2 separate regions of the Homo sapiens genome follow, and region 1 is linked to region 2. The links are contacts of gene promoters, found by promoter capture Hi-C in blood cells and fetal thymus (Javierre and others, 2016). All regions are on one chromosome and are shown on one strand. The core of a region is centred on a gene start or on the middle of the fragment in contact, and the rest is flanking DNA. Distances in the headings are between cores, read along the strand shown. Region 1 overlaps TULP3 (TUB like protein 3). Region 2 holds the start of TMEM263-DT (TMEM263 divergent transcript).

Region 1 (7,242 bases), core at 4,282-6,781, about 100 Mb after region 2:
ATGAATTTCGCTGTTTTTTTTTTTTTTTTTTTGAGACGTCGTTTCGCTCTTGTTGCCCAGGCTGGATTGCAATGGCGTGATCTCAGCTCACCACAACCTCAGCCTCCTGGGTTCAAGCGATTCTCCTGCCTCAGCCTCCCGAGTAGCTGGGATTACAGGCATGGGCCACCATGCCCGGCTAATTTTGTATTTTTAGTAGATACATGGTTTCTCCATGTTGGTCAGGCTGGTCTCTAACTCCTGACCTCAGGTGACCCACCCGCATGAGCCTCTCAAAGTGCTGGGATTACAGGCGTGAGCCACTGTGCCCAGCCTATGAATTTCACATTTTTAAAAGGTTAAAAATATCTGAAGAATAATATTTTGAGACATGTAAAAATTATATTAAATTCAAATTCCAACCAGGTGCAGTGACTCATGCCTGTCATCCCAGCACTTTGCGATGCCTATGTGGGCAGACTGCTTGAGGCCAGGAGTTTGAGACCAGCCTGGGCAACATAGTGAGACCCGTCTCTACAAAAAATTTAAAAATTAGCCAGGTGTGGTGGTGCACACCTGTAATCCCAGCTACTCAGGAGGCAGAGGAAGGAGGACTGCTTGAACCCAGGAGTTCAAGGCTGTTGTGGGCTACGACTGCACCACTGCACTCAGCCTGGGCACATAGTGAGAACCTGTCCCCCCAGCCCAAAAGAAATTATCACTGTGCAGGAAGTAATGAATAAAAAGAAAAAAGTCTTCAAATTCCAGTGTCCATAAAGTCTTATTGAAATAGACACATTCATTCACTTACCTATTATCTATGGCTGCTTTTGTGCTACAACAGCAAAACTGAGTAATGAGCAACTGGGACAGAGACTGTATGGCCCACAAAACCAAAAACGTTTGGTTAAGACCTTCGCAGAAAAGGACTACTGGCCAGGGGTGATGGTGCATGCCTATAGTCCCCGCTGCTAGGGAGGCTGAGGCGGGAAGATGGCTTAAGTCCAGCAGTTCAAGACCAGCTTGGGCAACAAAGCAAGACCCCATCTGAAAAAAAATAATTAAAAAGGTCTGCTGACCCCTGGCTTGGCCTATATTAGTTCAAACTAATTGTAAGTCCCCATTTAGAGACGTGTGCTATGTGGTTACAGCACAGTTCCCAGTACAACTTAACCTAGTAAAGCCTCAAGTTTCCTAATTTACAAAGTGAGGACAATGACACTTAACTCAGAAGGTTATTGTGAAGATTAAATGAAACTTGGCTCATAGTAAGCACTCAAACTGCAACTGCTATTATATCTTTTTTTTTTTTTTTTTTTGAGATCTAGTTTCCGCTCTTGTTGCCCAGGCTGGAGTGCAATGGCGCGATCTTGGCTCACTATAACCTCTGCCTCCCATGTTCAAGTGATTCTCATGCCTCAGCCTCCCAAGTAGCTGGGATCACAGGCATGCGCCACCACACCTGGCTAATTTTGTATTTTTAGTAGAGACAGGGTTTCACCATGCTGCCCAGGCTGGTCTCTAACTCCTAACCTCAGGTGATCTGCCTGCCTTGCCCTCCCAAAGTGCTGGGATTACAGGCATGAGCCACCGCACTGGGCCTAGAATTTTTTTTTTTTTTTTTTTTAAGAGACAGGGTCTCGGGCCAGGCAGAGTGGCTCATGCCTTTCCAGCATTTTGGGAGGCCGAGGTGGGAGAATCACTTGAGGCCCGAGTTCAAGACTAGCCTGGGCAATACAGCAAGACCCTATGTCTTGAGAGAGAGAACAAACGAACATGACAGACCAACAGACAGACAGGGGGTCTCACTATGTTGCCCAGGCTGGTCTTGAGCTACTGGCCTCAAGTGATCTCCTTCCTCCTGCCTCAGCCTCCCTAAGTGCTAGGATTATAGGCCTGAACCACTGTGCCTGGGAAGATTTTTGTTTTACAATACTTCTTAATACTACAAATGAATGTGTTACCTTAATCTTCACTTCAGTGAGAAGACTAATGATTTCATCATAATACTTTATCACCTTTCAAAAGCTTTCGAATGTTGGAAACCCAGAAATTTCTAATAATTTCCCCTGTATTAAAAAAATCTTTAGGCTGGGCGTAGTGGCTCATGCCTGTAATCCCAGTACTTTAGGAGGCCGAGGCAGGTGCATCACCTGAGGTAAGGGGTTCGAGACCAGCCTGGCCAACATGGTGAAATCCTGTCCCTACTAAAAATACAAAAATTAGCCAGGGGTGGTGGCAGGCACCTGTAATCCTACCTACTCAGGAGGCTGAGGCAGGGAGAACTGCTTGAACCCAGGAGGTGGAGGTTGCCATGAGCCGAGATCCTGCCACTGCACTCCAGCCTAGGCGACAGAGCGAGACTCCAAAAAAAAAATTTAAAAGTCCAAAATTGTATTGTTATTGAAACATTGTTAAAATGTGTTGTCACTCTGCTAGTTGCACTTAAGTACAGTTCTACTTAGTGAATATTTAATACTGCCTGCCAGGAATTATATTAAATATATATTATTTTTCACATATGATGTGTGATAATTTTCACGATAACCTTGACAAAGTAGGCACTATAATCTCATTTTACAGACAGATATGAAACTCATAGATGCTCTAAATGAATTTCGGGAGAAAGGAGGTGAACTCCTTTCATATGAGTTTCATATCTCTCTGTAAAATGAGATTATAGCACCTACCTTGTAGATTTATTGAAGTTTCTTCCTGCAAAGCTAAATAGCAATAATTTTATTTTTCCAGGAGCATATTTGAAAAATATTTCTTGCTTTGTTACAGCCTTATTTTCTACACATCACAGGAAAGCAATTTTAAACTTACAACTATAGTTCATATTCTAAAGGTCAAACAGCTGATCAGCGAAAGAGCCCAAATTCAATCACAAGTCTCACTCCCAATCTACCTGAATGTGTTAAACCACACGACTGAACACGTGTATTAAAATGGTCAGCAGAGACAGGAATTTCATTCTCTGGTATTTCAATATGTTCATTAAAAATGCCAGCTGACTTGCTATTTTTAGGTAGAACTTCCAAGCCAGTGAATGGATTTTTAAGCAGCCCTGGGGAGGAGTGCCCTGAATAACGACATTTAGGTCAACCATACTGCATATACAACAGGGGTCCCCTAAGATGATAACACCACATTGTCAGCCAGGCACAGTGGCTCACGCCTGTAATCCCAGCACTTTGGGAGGCAGAGGCGGGTGGATCACTTGAGGTCAGGAGTTCAAGACCAGTTTGACCAACATGGTAAAACCCCGTTTCTACTAAAAATACAAAATTAGCTGGGCATGGTGGTGCACGCCTGTAATCCCAACTACTTGGGAGGCTGAGGCAGGAGAATCACTTGAACCTGGGAGGCAGAGATTGCAGTGAGCCGAGATCATGCCATTGCACTCCAGCCTGAGTAACAAAGATGCGACTCCGTCTCAAAAAAAAAAAAAAGTATTCTCACTGTACCTTTGCTATGTTTAGATATGCTAATACTTACCAGTGTGTTCCAATTGCCTACAATATTCAGTACAGTAACAGGCTGTATAGCTTTGTAGCCTAGGAGCAACAGACTGTACCACAGGGCCTAGGTAGGTAGTAGGATATCCCATCAAGGTTTGTGTACACTATGACGTTCACACAACAAAATCCACTAATGACACATTTCTCAGAATGCATCCCCATCATTAAGTGGCAAATAACTGTATAGAGTGAAAGAGGCATCAGATTTCATCATGTTCAAACTGATAACAATTTCAGATAATTGTGGAAAGAGCTATTAACAAAGTATGTTTCCTAACTCAATTGACAAATAGGTTCACCTTGTCCAAATCCTAAATGTCAATATTCGAAGGCCATGTTTTTACACATACTGACACACCAAGAACACATCTGGCTTGAACAAAATATTGCTTCTGAGAAAAGACACATAAAGGTCATATGAGAAGTGTCAGAAAAGAATTCCTTTGACATCTATCCTTCCTCATCTAGGGAGAAATGTTAGTATTCTAAGCTCAGCTGTCCTCTACTTGAAAGACGGCCACAATCTGGAGCTAACTTAATTGAAGCCAGGGAATGAACATCCATTTCCTAGGAGGCCCATTTAGTAGAGACACAATCAGAGCAGGGAGAACTGCCTGGGGAGAGGGAGGCAATGAGAAGCAAAGGCTGGCCGCTGATTTGAGCATTCCCATAGCCCCAAAGAATGCTGCAGGGAAAACTATTTTAGAGTAAACCCCTCCTGATTTTGCAAGTACCACACAGCAAAAGCAAAAAGCATTCTTTTGAGTGAACTAAACAAAAAGGCTATTTAAGATGTATGATTTAATCCAGAAGTTAAAAGAATGCATTTATTACTTGTAGATTCAAACAGACATTACTCAGAACTTAAGTTCGTTTTAACTTTTGCCCAATTCTCCCTTCTCAGGGGTTATATTTTCTCTCTTCGGGAATGTTATTTATTTTCACTATTTCTTATTTTTATTTCATTTTATTTTATTTTTCAAATGGAGTTTTGCTCTTGTCGCCCAGGCTGGAGTGCAGTGGTGTGATCTCGGCTCACCGCAACCTCCGCCTCCCAGGTTCAAACAATTCTTCTGCCTCAGTTCCCGGAGTAGCTGGGACTATACGCACACACCACCATAACTGGCTAATTTTTGTATTTTTAGTAGAGACAGGGTTTCGCCATGTTGGTTGGGCTGGTCTTGAACTCCTGACCTCGTGATCTGCCCACCTCCGCCTCCCAAAGTGCTGGGATTACAGGCATGAGCCACTGCACCTAGCCTATTATTGAGCTTTTTATCTTGACAGATCTCTTTTTTGTGTGCGTGCGTGTGTGTGTGTGTGTGTGTGTGTGTGTTTTTGAGACGGAGTCTTGCTCTGTCACCCAGGCTAGAGTGCAGTGGCACAGTCTTGGCTCACTGCAACCTCCACCTCCCTGGTTCAAGCGATTCTCCTGCCTCAGCTCCTGAGTAGCTAAGATTATAGGCACCTGCCACCATGCCTGGCTAAGTTTTGCATTTTTAGTAGAGATAGGGTTTCTCCATGTTGGTCAGGCTGGTCTTGAACTCGTGACCTCAGGTGATTTCCCCCCCCCCGCCCCGCCCCCCCGCCATCTCGGCCTCCCATGGTGCTGGGATTACAAGTGTGAGCCACCATGCCCAGCCTACTGTTTATATTTCTAAAGAGAAATCATGGTATATGGACAAACCACCGACTGGGATTTCTTAGATGACTCCAGCTCACAAGGTCACACCACAGTGGGAAGCACGCCTTCAATTCTCAATTCTCTATCACTTACAAAAGGCCAGATAGGGCTCAAGTTCCAGCACCAGCCAACCCCCGTCATCTCCAGGGAATCTATATTATAAAATGCCTAGCCTCAACAAAGGTCCTGAGTGTTGTTTCAAATTTCACCTCCAATTTTCACTAAACATTTCTGATATAAGAAAATAGGCCAAGCCTGGTCGCTCACACCTGTAATCCCAGCACTTTGGGAGGCTGAGGCAGGAGGATCACTTGAGACCAGGACTTCAAGACCATCCTGGGCAACATAGTGAGACCTTGTCTCTACAAAAAAATAAAAATTAAAAAAAATATTTGTAGTTAATAATTTCTCTATTTTGTTGAAAATAAATCTGCTTCATGATAAAAGTTACATAATTCCAAGAAAAAAAAAAAACACAGAAAACCTAAAAGTTGGTTGTTATCCTTACATTGAAAGGCAGTAATACAGAAAATTCTATCAATGTATTTCATCAAAAACATTAAACAGCCAGGCAGGGTTGGGGGGCTCACGCCTGTAATCCCAGCACTTTGGGAGGCCGAGGCGGGCGAATCCCCTGAGGTCGGGAGTTCAAGACCAGCCTGACCAACATGGAGAAACCCCCTCTCTACTAAAAATATAAAAATTAGCCGGGCACGGTGGCGCATGCCTGTAATCCCAGCTACTCAGGAGGCTGAGGCTGGAGAATCACTGGAACCCAGGAGGCAAGTAAGCCAAGATGGCGCCACTGCACTCCAGCCTGGGCGACGAGAGCGAAACTCCGTTTGGAAAAAAAAAAAAAAAAACACATTAAACACACAACCTGAAGCCCAAAAAGAGAAAAAAGCAAGAGACTCCCTCTTAGTAACAAATGAGTTAAACACTGATAGAAGTTGCACTAACATTACAGAGGGCAGGAGAAACATTTGGTGACTCACACATTCCCCTTTGATGTCAATTTTACAATTTAGGGCCAAGTGCAGTGGCTCAGGCCTGTAATCCCAGAAGTTTTGGAGGCTGAGGCAGGCAGATCACTTGAGCTCACTTCGACACCAGCCTGAGCAACATGACGAAACCCCACCTCTACAAAAAATACAAGAAATTAGCCAGGTGGTGCCACGCACCTGTGGTCCCAGCTACTAGGGATGCTGAGGTGGGAGGATCGCTTAACCTGGGGAAGAGGTTGAAATTAGTTGAGATCGCCCACCACATCCTAGCCTGGGCGACAGAGTGAGACCCTGTCTCAAAAAAAAAAAAAAATTAAAATTAAAAGAAAAGAAAATAAAATTTAAAGAGCTAGTTTCTTTCGGAAGAACAAGGAGGGGGCCAGGCGCAGTGGCTCACGCCTGTAATCCCAGCACTTTGGGAGGCCGAGGTGGGCAGATCACCAGGTCAAGAAATCGAGACCATCTTGGCCAACATGGTGAAGCCCCGTCTCTACTAAAAATACAAAAATTAGCTGGGCGTGGTGGCGCGTGCCTATAGTCCCAGCTACTCAGGAGGCTGAGGCAGGAGAATCACTTGAACCCGGGAAGCGGAGGCTGCAGTTAGCCGAGATCGCACCACTGCACTACCGCCTGGCGACAGAGAGAGACTCCGTCTCAGAAAAAAAAAAGGAAGGAAAAGCCTCTTGGTCCCAATTTCAAAGTCAATCCCGCATCCCGTTTTTTTTTCCCCAAAAAATCTGAGTCATATCAAACATCTGGTACTCATGAAATTTACTACTTTAAATTCATGGAATTAAAACTGAGCGCCCACAACTGAACAAATATTTTCGGAATTCAACCAGAGATGCTGAATACTAACTTTATCTCCTCTACCACTTACACCTGTAAATGTAGTTTTCTTCCTCGACTTGGGAAAAAAAAAAGCACAGTGAACAAATTTCAGAGTGCAGCTATCACCTCAATAGAACTTGACGAAAAAGGAAAATACATGTTCTTTACCCCCAACAACTTTGTGACAATTTTTAAAAATGGTTTAAAATTGTTTAAATAT
Region 2 (6,578 bases), core at 980-3,479:
AATGAAACATTAAGCAGAATTACAATACTCTATTAAACCAGAGAACCAGTAAACCATCTTCACATTATTTCAACAGATATTTGCATTCCTACTATGTGTCAAACATTCTATTAGGCACTGAGGCATCCTTGTGAACAAGCATACAAAGGTCTTATTCTCAAGATGTTTATATATAATCCAGTGAGATATCTTCCGGAAATAGAAAAAGAGCAAATACCGAATAACTGAAACAAAGGTAAAGATTTTCCTGTAGTTAAAAAAAAAAAAATCAAACCCATGCACACACAAAGAAATCTGTATATTTGTCCAATGTAGCAACCGTTATAATTTCTAACGATGCTTTCTATAAATGGACAAATTTTTACTGAACTTGGTTTCTGGTACATCTGTTCTAACAAAGACTAAAGAAATGAAAGTGGAAAAAGCAAAACAGGATGCATATGGGTTTATCAAAGGCTACTTCTCCCTTTCTTTTTAAAAAGTTAAGCATGGGCGCGAGCGCGCACACACATACACACACACACACACACACACACACACACACACACACACACACACGGGCGCGCGCGTTTACCTGTTGGTGTTGTATCGATATTCCTGGGGAACCCCTGAGGGCACTCACACCAGCAGAAGTTTCAAAGGCTAAACAATAGCATACAGCAAATAATCACATATAGCAAATATTTTCATTTGGAATTAGCACAGTGTTCACAAGGACGCAAAAATCAAATTAAGAACCCTTCCCTTTTCTCTAGGTGTTTCTAAACCCTTCCGGGTGGCCCCTTCTCTCCCTACTGATCCCTTTAGGCACTAGCAAATCTTTTTTTTTTCTTTAGCAGTGAGTGACGTGGCAGGAGGCAGAAAATGACCCTGGAGGCGCCGTGGCTAGCACTGAGCTTGGCACCTCCTCCCTCCGCTCCACGTTGTACACCCAGCACTCCCCCCACTCCCGAAGGGCTCCAGAATTTCTATGTAAGAAGGGTTTAGGACAGGCGATCTGATTGGAAGTGGGAGCTGGGGGGTCGGTCTTGAAGCTGCGTGTGCAGAGCAGGCAGTTTTTATTTAGACTGGGAGGCAGTGACGGCACGGATGGGTGCTCCAGCCCTCCCTGTCACCCCTGGGCGCGGCCAGCACCCTCTCCATTCCCACTTTTACTTTAGGTTAGGCGTGGAGATACAGCCTTCCTACCCAGGAAGAGCTATGGGGGTGTCCACTGGGAAAAAGTCTTGTGTGCCTGAACCCAAAAGGGAGGTTTAGCAACAGGTCAGGAGTTGGCAGGGCGAGGAAGCCCGGTACCCAAGCCCCTCCGCTGCATCCCTCTCCCAGGCTGCTGATGCCCCTCACCTTCCTCCTCCGCCCCCAACCCCGAACCCCCAGATGCTAAGAAGTCAGGCGGAGGCTTTCCAGGGGTGCGCAAGCTCCAATCGCGGCGGGGCAGTCAGCGACGTATAAGGAGGAGTAGCCCCAGAAGCGAACCTCCATCCGCCCCCAACTTCGTCCCGCCCCTCCCCCTTTCCCGCTGGGGCCTCGCCAAGGCCCCGCTGGGCAGCCAGGCCGGGCACTGGGAGGTGAGGGGCAGGGGCGCCGACGGCAGAGGGCGACGGAGGAGGGCAGGAAGCCGGGACTGCGCCCCTGCCCTCGCATCCCGACTCACTCACCGCCGGGGTCGCGGCCAGCGCTAGGGCTGGGGCCGGGCGGAGTGAGCGGGCCGGCGCAGAGGAGAGCTGAGGCGGCCTGGGCGGCAGCGGCGGCCGGCACAACCCCGGGCAGTCGCGGCTCCAGAGGCGTCCTCTCAGGATGTGGAGCTGGAAGACTGTGGCGGCGGTGGTGGAGGCGGAGGCCTCTGGCTGCGGACGTGGCGCCCGACGCGACCCGCCCCCTCCGCCGCCTCCTCAGCTCCCGCCTCCTCCCGCGGCTCCAGTTCCGACGCGCACGCGCGCTCGTGCAGCCCGGGCCCCTCCCGCGCCCACCGGGCACACGCCCACCCGTTCTCGCAGGGTCCGGCCCTCCCAGCAGTCCCCAGCCGGCTGTGTCCCAATTGCGCACGCGCGACGCTCCGAGGCCCGCTCCCGCCCCTTCGCCCCCTGGACGCCTCCGTGGGAACCCCCGGCCGGCCTGCGCGCCCCTCCTCCGGGGGTCTCCCCGCCTTCTTCCCGCCACCATCCAATCAAATCGGGCGAGGGGCGCGAAGCCCGGGAGACGCGTAGGCCGCGGCCCCCAGGCCCGGTGTTTTGACGTCGGCGGTGCCCGCGTTCCGCGCCGAGTAACGGTCTTCGGAATTCAGAGCCTTCGCCTTAGGGAAGGTGGGACGGTCGCCAGTTTCTCCAGCACTTTCTTCGTCCAGGGACGTCAACCTCCCTTGCATGCTGTCCTCAGGGACTGACAGCGGGGCCTGCTCAGAAGTTCTCGTCGGGACTCTCTACAGGCCTTTGTGATTAAGTGCTAGGGGTGAGGAGAGACGTGGCTTATTTATGTGTTTTTCAGTTTGTTATGATTTTTTTTTTTTTAATTTTACTTCTCCCTGCCCTAGAATTGAGCTCCTTGAGAGTAAAAACCCGCCTGGGTCGCCATCACCCTAGGCTTGGTGCAGGGCCTGCCAGGCGCTCGAATTTGTTGAAGAGGTGGGTGTTCAGTATCGAAAGAGCCGCGGATTGTACATTAGAAAGCCTGGCTTTGCGCCGCGTCCTTGCCACTTGCTGACCAGGCCCCTCCACGTGGTCCCCGCCGGGGCAGCAGCTCTCCTCACCCGTCCAAAGGCACGGGGAGGCGCGTGGCGGCCCCGCCAGAGCTGAGCCCCCTGGGATGTGAGGCCGTCTCGCTCTGAGCTTCAGAGCAGGGTTGCAGGAGACACCTCAGAAGGTCGTTTTGAGGACGGGAGGAGATGAACTGCTCAAAGCCTGCTTAACTAGATAAATGGTATCGATTAACTTTTCTTTGACTCCCTTTCCACACCTATAAAATGAAGATGACGGGAAACTTGTCATACTTTTTTTGTGGTGGGTGGGAAAGGTCTTTATGAACTGTGAAGTCCTATGCAAACGTGAGATGTTTCCTTTCGCAATCTGATTAGCGAAGCAAAAACACGCGAGTCAAAAACATACACAGAAAGCAAAAAAAAAAAATTCACAAAATGGTTTATCAACTGCAGAATATTCAGGATGGTGGAACTGAATGGTAACTACTGACAACATAGCTCAGAAAGGACGTGCTAAAACATGCTGGATGAAGCTAACTTTGATCCAGGTCTTAAATGGAATGGACTATAGTTTATAGCTTCAACCTAATCATTAACTTATGAAATCAGAGAATTAAGGCCACTTAAGCCACTGTGCTCAGACTGTCAAGATATTTAGTTTCTCAAAGCAGAAAGAGGAAATTAAATACTCTTGTCAATTCAACATATGGGTTGGATGATTAGCAGGATCCGTGGATTGTTGTTTATCCAGTATGTGAAGAAACGGATATCCTCTGTTTTCTCGTTATTACACAAACTTCTATCCTTAATATGTGACCTTTCAAGGTTGAACTCTAGGTAAAATTATGAAGTGCACAATTACGTCTTGTTTCTTCTTCCCTTTGCACGTCGTTTTACAAGAGAATCTAATTATTATTAAAGTACAAATGACTGACAAGATTGTAGCCACTCCTGGGAGATTTTGCATTTTTACGGTTATTAAAAGCCATAACTCAAAGCAGCAGTTGAATCTGTTTCATAAACTAACTAAGATTTAAAAGAGCTCCTTTGGGAGGTCATGAGTTCATCAGAAACTTCTGGTGTAGGAGTTCAGCCTATAAAACAAACAAATACATGACTTGTAGTATTTCTTCGTTTTATAGTCTGAACTCCTCTAAGTTCTTGATTCCCATTCTGTGACCTCCCTTTCTTAGATTGTTAAAATAAAATACAGATGACTCACGCCTTTAATCCCAGCACCTCGGGAGGCTGAGTCGGGAAGATCACTTGAGCCTAGGAGTTTAAGACCAGCAAGGGCAACATGGGGAGATCCCATCTCTTAAAAAAATAATAATAATAATTGAGCATGGTGGCACCCTCCTGTAGTCCCAGCTATTTGGGATACTGAAGCAGGAGGATTGCTAGAGCCTGGGAGGTCAAAGCTGCACTGAGCCGTGGTCACACCACTGCATTCCAGCCTGGACAACAGAGTGAGACCCTGTTTCAAGAAAAATAAAATGAAACATTTATTTCTGGATGTTATTTTGAAAGATTTTGTCATGTCTTAATGAGCCCTGGCCACGTAATCACAGCATTTTGGGAGGCCAAGGTGGGAGGATTGCTTAAAGCCAGGAGTTTGAGACTAGCCGGGTCAATATAGTGAGACCCTGTTTCTACAAAAAATAAATAAATAAATAGCCAGGTGTGGTGGCACGCACCTGTAGTCCTAGCTACTTGGGAAGTTGAGGCAGGAAGGTCACTTGAGCCAGGATTTCAAGGCTGCAGTGAGCTATGATTGTGCCTCTGCTCTCCAGCCTGGGTGACAAAGTGAGACCCTCTCTCTTAAAATAACAATAATGATGAATTCTTAGTGCCTTCAGGCAATAAAATTCTTTTAACAAAATTCTTAATACACATATCAATTACCCAGCCTCTTAAGTGACTGAGTTTTCTTCTAGTTGGGTACACACACAGTCTTTTTGCCTTATTGAAAAACTTAGAAATTAGATGTGGCATTGCTTAACATGGTGGGGTGGTTCAAAGAGGACCAGAAAGAAGGCAGAAACCAGTAATGTTAAAGCAAGAAATTATTTCTAGGCTGATAGTACGCTGAAGTTTAAAAAGCTCCAGCCCAACCTTCTACCCAACATGTGAGTCTGTCTCCTGTTATGTGCACAATCATAGTTTTCATCATTATCAAACACTCTTCCCAGGGTTTCAGTATGGACTCATTTAAGTAAGAAGCCTACTTGTTGCAAGGTGCGCACGTTTTTCCTGTTTCACCATGTTTTCATGAGTGTAATGCATTATCCTTGCATTAAATTAACAGCTTTATAAAAGTTAGTTACCCCCCAGTGTAAATCATTATGCTTTCTATCCTCACTTTCTTCACTGCTCTTTGCCATTCCTGGCACAATCACCTGTGCTATTGGTTTTCCTTTGCCTGCACCAATATCCTTAATTTTTCCTATGATACGGCAGATTTATTTGACACAGCTCCTAACCTCGATCATCTGATTTCTCTCAATCCAATGAAGCAAGCACATTATATTCTAATATAGGAAATCCTATATTCATATGAGGAAACCGAGGCATAGAGAAGTTGGATAATTTACCCTGGGTCCCACAGGCTAGTGAAGAGCAGGCTTTAGAATCAAACCCAATTTTGTCTGACTCTAGAGCCCAAGTTCTTAATCACTATATTCCGAGAAAGAGAAAAGCAGTTTCTGACATGCAGTAGATGCTGGCACACTAGGCTTTGGTATTCTTGTTGAACAAAAATAATTTTAGAGAACATCAACATCAGACGAGGCCACTCCATGATCATGGTGGATCAGGACAAAAATAAGACTACTTCATAATCGTGTGTGAATGTAGACAAAAACACAAATGCTGTCCAACCCACCAAATGAAATACACAAAATGAAAATACCAAACTAGTCTACGTAGCTGTTGCCTCTTTGCCAATGACAGCTTAAGCCTCATTCCAGTCTTCCCTCTTTCTAGATAAGATTTATTAAGATACCCAATCATAGAATTACCCCCACTTCCTGACAATATCCTGTTTAGAGCATAGAGCAAAGTTCCACCACCTTAAACCCTCTATCAGATCACCTAACACAAACCCAATCTTACTAAAAGATTTTTTTGAACACCTTACCAGTATGCCACGTGGTTCCCCGTGATGTGTTCTTCCTTGCTGCAATGAGTAGTAAATTCGGCTTGTTCAACCACAGGTGTGTTCCTGGTGATCTTTGACTAGAAAGCATTGACAGTTCTTTCTGGACTATTCTATATCATGCATTTCTATGGAGTAGAAAGCATACTTATTAGGTATTTCTGCCAGTCAAAGGACTGGAAACTGCCCTTTCATCTCCAGCCATAGGATTGTCACACCAAAGCTAGAAGGTTCCCTTTCTTTTTGTGGATCATATATAGAGTGTCTGCTAAATTGAGCCTTATTAAAAGATAGTGAAAAGAAGCACATGTTGGAATAATTGGACATCATTTTTAAAACAAAAGCTTAACACCTATAAACTCATGCCTTTCACCATATGCAAAATAATTCAAAATGGATCATAGACCTAAATGTGAAAATATAAAACTTTTAGAAGAAAACATAGGAGAACATTTTTATGATCTTGAATTAGGCAGAGTTTTCTTAGGTACAACAAAAAACACAATCCATGAAAGAAAGAAATTTATAAAAACTTGCTGTTTGGATAACACTTGCTCTTTGGATGTCACTTAAGAAAACAAAAGAACAAGCAACAGACTGGGAGAAAATATTTGCAAAACATACCTTTTTTTTTTTTTTCTTTGAGACGGAGTCTCGCACTGTCACCCAGGCTGAAGTGCAGTGCACAATCTCGGCTCACTGCAAGCTCTGCCTCCTGGATTCACG

Evidence for each region. Contacts are between HindIII fragments. The CHiCAGO score rates a contact against its expected background, and 5 or more counts as called.
Region 1: a fragment that was not itself captured here is called in contact with the fragment with the promoter of TMEM263-DT in region 2 in 1 of 17 cell types (non-activated CD4 T cells); the score reaches 5.7 in non-activated CD4 T cells.

The regions. Positions count from the first base shown.
Region 1 is chr12:2,892,136-2,899,377 of GRCh38, reverse strand. All of the region lies in intron 1 of TULP3 (TUB like protein 3), which reads right to left. Among named protein-coding and RNA genes, the nearest start is that of TULP3, 4.9 kb to the right of the region's middle. The HindIII fragment of the contact is 7,043 bases long and covers 2,010-7,242 here.
Region 2 is chr12:106,951,146-106,957,723 of GRCh38, reverse strand. TMEM263-DT (TMEM263 divergent transcript) reads left to right here and starts at 2,229. Exons shown (of 1, transcript NR_185933.1): 1 at 2,229-4,211. It overlaps TMEM263 (transmembrane protein 263), which reads right to left and starts at 1,817. Exons shown (of 4, transcript NM_152261.4): 1 at 1,659-1,817; 2 at 575-642. RefSeq lists enhancers at 870-929, 1,859-2,153 and a silencer at 1,430-2,189. The HindIII fragment of the contact is 6,686 bases long and covers 1-6,198 here.